Regions from separate parts of the Homo sapiens genome. Here region 1 is linked to region 2. The links are contacts of gene promoters, found by promoter capture Hi-C in blood cells and fetal thymus (Javierre and others, 2016). All regions are on one chromosome and are shown on one strand. The core of a region is centred on a gene start or on the middle of the fragment in contact, and the rest is flanking DNA. Distances in the headings are between cores, read along the strand shown. Region 1 has its middle 12 kb from the start of FCAMR. Region 2 holds the start of IKBKE (inhibitor of nuclear factor kappa B kinase subunit epsilon).

What was found. Contacts are between HindIII fragments. The CHiCAGO score rates a contact against its expected background, and 5 or more counts as called.
Region 1: a fragment that was not itself captured here is called in contact with the fragment with the promoter of IKBKE in region 2 in 8 of 17 cell types (activated CD4 T cells, naive B cells, total B cells and 5 more); the score reaches 11.8 in activated CD4 T cells.

Annotation. Positions count from the first base shown.
Region 1 is chr1:206,981,329-206,984,381 of GRCh38, reverse strand. No RefSeq gene overlaps it. Among named protein-coding and RNA genes, the nearest start is that of FCAMR, 12 kb to the right of the region's middle. The HindIII fragment of the contact is 173 bases long and covers 1,668-1,840 here.
Region 2 is chr1:206,469,072-206,472,529 of GRCh38, reverse strand. IKBKE (inhibitor of nuclear factor kappa B kinase subunit epsilon) reads right to left here and starts at 2,054. Exons shown (of 22, transcript NM_014002.4): 1 at 1,832-2,054; 2 at 1,285-1,374. RefSeq lists enhancers at 2,678-2,987, 2,507-3,144. The HindIII fragment of the contact is 16,341 bases long and covers 1-3,458 here.

The DNA of each region.
Region 1 (3,053 bases), core at 505-3,004, 510 kb before region 2:
CAATGAATAACAGTTTCTGTTATATAACCATGTAACATTCCTTGACTCATATGTGCTGGAAATATTTTCCAAGTCTTTTGTTTTCCTTTTTATATATTGTTGAGGGGCAAATTTTTAAAAAGTATTTTAATTTCTCTTTTCCTATGTTCTTTCTTATATGATTTTAAAACTTAGAAAATTACTCCTTTAGAGATAGGATACATATTTACTTCCATTTTCTGCTAGTTTTTAAAAATAATTTGGTTTTTCTTCAATTGTTTAATCCATCTGGAATTTTTTTAGCAACTAATCAGAGCAATTTATTTTCTAAATTGCTAGCTAAGACTATTTTTCCTTTAATACTATCTGATGACATTTATCAAATACGCAATTCTCACTGTAAAATAATAATATGTTTTCAGATATTAACCTGGTAAATCCTAGGCTCTGATTAACCTGTGACCCCCAAATGTTGAACTGATGGCATCCAGAGCTTCATGGGGAGGGGAGAACCATCAAATATAGGGGAGCTCCTATTTCATTTTCTAGGCTATCTTGAGAATGTTGAAAAAAAAAGTGAGAGGATTTTCAGCTAGCTAGAGAACTAATCATAGAACAGATTATTGACCATTGATCAGAGAAGAACATGAAATATGATGTTAGTGAAGCCCTCACCATTGAGGAAGGAAGAAGTTCCTTCTAATGCTGGGATTAGGATCTGGGTGGGTGAGGGGGAAAAAAGGGGCAAAGGGTGACCTGAAATGTTCTGGCTCCCTTTCTCACCCCAGGATGGAACATTAACAAGAGGTGTTATAGGGCAGGAGGGTGCATCTTGGATAAAACCACCCCCAAGATAAATTTGGGACAGTCTAAGAACTTCAGGAGCTGCTGTCCTTCACAGACTGGGCAGAGCTTGGGGAAACCATAGACTTTGTGGAGAAACCCTCCACTGCAGGGGATGCTGCATCCAACATGATCCAAGAAAGGGGAACTAGCAATTACAGGCACATGCTGAGGGCAGACTTCAAGGGTCCACACACAACAGCATATTGGAGAGAAAGCAATCTAGAGTTTTCCGGCACCCCACTGAGATGCATGACAGCTGAGAGAGCAGAAAAGACCCAAGTTCCTAAGGAAGCTCAGAGTATGGAGCTCTTGTCACCAGAGGCAATGGCAAGGACCCGCGTGTATGCATAGTGGGGGGCAGATGCCACTATGATGCCCATGGACCAGATCAAACCAGTGGCATCTTCATCACCAAGAAGAATGAGGGGCATTTCAGAATGAGGGTAGGGAGAATCAAGGACATCTGAGCAATACCACTGCACCCAGACACCATCTTGAGAAGGGGTAGGAGAGATCCCTTCAAGCTGTCTAGAGTCTGAGCTTTGAATTAGCTGCTTTACCTAAAACAGATCTGAGCAATGGAGATTAACTTTCTATTAATTGGTACATTTAAAATATCTTGGCAATATCACCTCATCCCTGCTACCAACAGAAATTAGCACCCACACTAAACAATTATAAGACAAAAATTTTACTTTTATTTTTCCATATCTGAGTAATATGTCAATTTTGAAAGCACCAAACACACACACACACACAAAGAGAGAGAGAGAGTTAGGCCTTTTCTGGGCTTTTTGTTCCTTTATTGATTTAAAATGCATCCTTAAAGTCAGAACAAAGCTTTACATGTGTTTGGGGTACGTTGTGTTCAAAAGCAATGTAGAAAAAGACTTTTTTCTCTTAGTAGGCATAGTTGGAAATTCATTCTTCTTTGTGCCAGAGGAATTCAGAACTCTTTCACGTATTGTTAACCTCGCATGAGGTGTGATGGCCACCATAGGTGACACAGGAAGCTTCATGCTGAGAGTAAATGTAGAAAAGTAGAACATTTTGGAAAACTCAAATTTATTCTTGGGAAAATCCTTGCAAATCCTGTTGTTCCCTTGCATTCCCCAGGGGTGACCATATGTTTCCCTGGGACAATCCCGATTTACACCTGCTGCCCCAGAACAATTATTAGAAGTGCCCCTTCATAGTGTCCTGATCTGAGGTCCCTGGTCACTCTAGCCATGGAGTCTTTCTGGCACAAGGTGGCAGCAGCTGCCCATAGTTGAAAACGTATTGTAGCTTTTGGGCCCTTCCAGTATCTGAGACAGAGAAAAGGGTCCATTCATTAACCCAGGACAGGCTTCCAAATACAGCACCAAACTATGGAATGAGAGTACCTTAGAATGCAAGGACTTAGAATACAGGATCATCTGGCCACCCCCTGCCATGAGGCAGGCCACGCAACCCTTTTGGCAGCTGTGGGGAAAGCCATTCTCTGGATGGGTATTCTCTCAGCTGGTGAAGTTAGGCTTTTGTTCACAAATTTCAAGCAGCTCCTGGAGAGAAGGGAAGGGTCCGCTCCCTGCAGTTTCTGAGATCCTCACCTGCAAAGACCCTCATCCTTGCGCTGAATGTGCAGGCTGCATGGATATGTTCACCTGGCCCATCAAGAAGGTGCTTGTTTTCCGAAAGATTCTTCAATTGTCAGCTCTTCTCTCTATTTTTTTTTTCTTGTTATGGGTTGAAATGTGCCAAAAAAGATATGATGAAGTCCTAACCCCTAGTCCCTCAGAATGACCTTATTTGGAAATAGGATCATTGAAGATGTAATTAAGATAAGGTGACATGGAGTACGGCAGGCCCTTAATCCCATATGATATCCTTATAAGAAAAGGAGAAGACAGAGACACACGGGGAAGATGGCCATGTGAAGCCAGAGGCAGAGACTGGAGTGATGTTGCCATAAGCCAAGGAATGCCTGGAGATACCAGATGGTGGAAGAGGCAAGGATGGATCCTCCCCTAGATGCTTCAGAGGAACCATGGCCTTGCCAGTACCTTGATTTCAGACTTCTAGCTCCAGAGCTGTGAGAATAGATTTCTGCTGTTTTAAGCCACCCAGTTTATAGTGCTTAGTTATGACAGCCCTAGGAAACCAATGTGCTTCCCTCTCACACTTTCCGAACCCCATGCATTACTTATCTATTGCTGCACACCAAGATTACCATAGAGTCAGCAGCC
Region 2 (3,458 bases), core at 805-3,304:
TGAGAGCAGGGTATAGGGGAGGCAAAATTCATCATTCAGCCATTGGGAGAATCTGAAACCCCCTACAACTCTGTTTCCCATCTTTGTCCTCATCTTTTCCCCAAAGCCTAGTTCTCCTAAAGCAATTAGTACCAGAAAGTGTATCCTCAGAAGTTAAACTCAATTTCTCTTTGAAAAATAAGGCCAGTGCTGGCCTTTTTGGGATACCTGGGGACAGAAGCATTAGAAGGGCCACCATCCTTTAAATACTTTCTTTTTCCTTTTTCTTTTTTTTATTTTGACGTAAGGTCTCACTCTGTCATCCAGGCTGGGGTGCAGTGGTACAATCATGACTCACTGCAACCTCCACCCCCTGGGCTCAAGCAATCCTCCCAACTCAGCCTCCTGAGGAGCTTAGGACCATAGGTGTGCACCACCACACCTGGCTGTCTTTTGTATTTTTAGTAGAGATGGGTTTTTGCCATGTTGCCCAGGCTGGTCTTGAACTCCTGAGCTCAGGCAATCCGGCCACATGGGCTTCCCCAAAAAATTGCTGGGATTACAGGTGTGAGCCACCATGCCTGGCCACTTAAATACTTTTAAATAACGCTAGACTAGAAAAGGCATCTTCGTGTTCTAACATCTTACAGGTTCTCAAACTGAGGGTTGCCATGCCTGGAATCCTATGTTCCTTCGCTCTGAACTTTTTCTCTGTGTAATCTTTTTTAAAAATGCAAATCCTTGATAATGTCATTTCATTGAGCCAGAGGCCCCTTGAAGAGATCGGTGGTCAACTCCTAGTTTCAGATCAGGTAGGAGCGGACATTACACAGAAGCAACTGAGGTACTGAGAGGCTTCCTGAAGACAACACAGTAGCTCAGCATGAATGAGTGGGTCTGGTTTTCCCCGCTGAGGCTGGAGGCAGCCAGCAGGTCTGGGGGCTGGGGCTGGGGTTGGAGCACAGCAGGCTGAAATCAAGGCCAAGGGCTCTGATACTGGGGCAAGGAACAGCTCAGGACTCTGGGATAATAGGCAGTGAGGTGCAAAGCGCAGACCCCCAGACAAGCGGTGTGCCCCTGGATTCTGTGCCCGGGAGCTCTGGTTGTGGCACATCTGGCTTAACTCTGCACGCTCTGCAGATCCTCCCCCCACCACCCCAAGCACCTGGTGCAAAGAAGGGCTCAGTGGCCCTCAGCCAGTGGTTGGATGAATGAGCAGTGGACAGTGAAGCATGTGAGACACCACCCACCCACCTCTCCCCTCCCCTCCCTCCTCAGGGCTCTGCTGTGGCCAAGTGCACTTACCCCACACTCTGAGCTGCCCTGAGTCAGGCAAAGGCTCTTCCTGGCGAGTGTATGTTATGCTTTCTGTCTGTGGCACGTCCAGGAGCTGAGCTACACCGGAAAGAGGAGGGCGGATGAGAGGCGCCCCTCAGTGCAGTTGCTTCTCAGCCTCCATCAAAGGCCGCCGGCCCTAGCCCTTTAACCCTTTCCTGTTTGTCACCTTCCCCCACAGGGCTGGGCTGGGGGTTTCCAGCTCTATTCCCAAACTGTTCAGGGAGCCTTTCCCAGCGTCTCCTACTCCTGAGACTCCGGCCAGGGAGAAAGACCCCGGGAAAGGTGAGGGCAGGCGCTGGGTGCTGATCGCTGGCTTTGGGTGTTGGTAAGCAGAGCCCAGGGAGGGCTTGTGGTTGGCCCGTGGTGGCTCACCTCCATGCCACACACAACGCTCTATGTGAGAGCACCGCTGCCAACAAGCCCACACCCCTGCACCCGGCTGAGCTGCCCTGCAGCTGCCCCTTGTCTGGCCCCTCATTCCACCCCCACCCCCCTCCGCACGCTGCACACTCACCCCATCTCCACTGCAGGGGATGCAGGCTTGTGGGACTGGGTGACACCCCCAGAGCTTTCAGGGCTCACTGTCATTCATGAGCAGTGTTCTTAGCCTCCTGGTAGCCAAGGGCCCCTAGGACCCACAGGCAGGGCCAGTTGCAATGTCTGTGCCACCCCAGGAGCTGGGACTAGTGGGTTTCTTCCCTGCCTCCTTGTGGCGGTGGGACACCAAGCTCAGCACTGAGTCCTGGCTCTCAGCTCTCTCGCACTTCCTGATTTCCGTCTCTCGCTCTCTCTTTCTCTCTTAAAGAGACAGAGGCAACTCGGTGCAGCCACCAGCTCAGCAGAAAAGAGAAAGAGGATGCTCTGAGTTCCCAAGGGTAGGCAATAGGACCAGAGTGTGAGCCACAGAGAAGCCAGGAACTGGGGCCCTTCTGGTAATCTTGATGGGCAGCTGGGTGCTGTTTTGGCATCTCCCACAGTTCACTGGAGCAGGGAAGTTCAGGGCTCTTCCCAGAGTCAACAGAGCAGGTTGGGCAAGTTAACTAAGTGGAAAGCTGCCTGGGAAGTCCATGCTCCCACACCCAGGAACCCCAAGGAAGTGTGGGAGCTATGCCGATCCAGTCCTAGAAGTTGGATCTGAGTCACCTTCCCAGGAGGCCTGCAGAGGTCCGAGAGCAAGCGCGGGGACCCAGCTGATGCCTTCCAGTGTGACCTGAGCACACAGCATGCAGCCCCTCCCAGCCAGCTCACTCACCCGCAGAGTAACAGCTACTCTGTGGGTTGATTGGATGACATGGATATATTTGGAATTGTTTGGGAGCTTGGAAAGCATTTTACAGAAAGGCATTGAAGGCATGGAGGCCCACACACTTCAGTAATTTACCCATGCTCTTCAGAGACTGCTGGGGCTGGCACCCAGGTGCCAACTTCCCAGCCAGGACTCGATGCCCCACATCAAATGTCCTAGGAGGCTGGAGGGGTCTGTCCTGCTCTGGTCAGCTCAGAGATGGCAGTTGGATATGAAATGGTTAAAACCAGGAAATTCCATGTTTCTATAGAATGTTGGAGGGACTTTCCCATGGCCACACCTGGTGGTTTCCTCCGCCAGCCCCACCCCTCCCACAGTGACACTAGAACAGGAGCAGAGCTGAGAACTGCCTAGTGCTCAGATAAAGAGAACTCCCCATAACACCTCCAGCTGGAGGAGTTGCTGCAACTTCTCACATCAGGACCAGGAGGAATGTGCCTGAGTGCCTGAGATCCTCATGTTCCACCCAGTCTTCCCAGCTTGCTTTTTTTTTTTGAGATGGAGTCTCACTCTGTCACCCAGGCTGGAGTGCAGTGGCATGATGTTAGCTCACTGCAACCTCCACCTCCTGGGTTCAAGTGATTCTTCTGCCTCAGCCTCCCAAGTATCTGGGACTACAGGCATGCACCACCATGCCCGGCTAACTTTTTGTATTTTTAGTAGAGATGGGGTTTCACTGTGTGGTTGGTGAGGTGGATTGAACAGGTTGGACTTGATCTCCCAACCTCCTGATCCACCTGCCTCAGCCTCCCAAAGTGCCGGGATTACAGGCGTGAGCCAGTGGCTAATTTTTTGTATTTTTAGTAGAGATGGGGTTTCACTGTGTGGTTGGTGA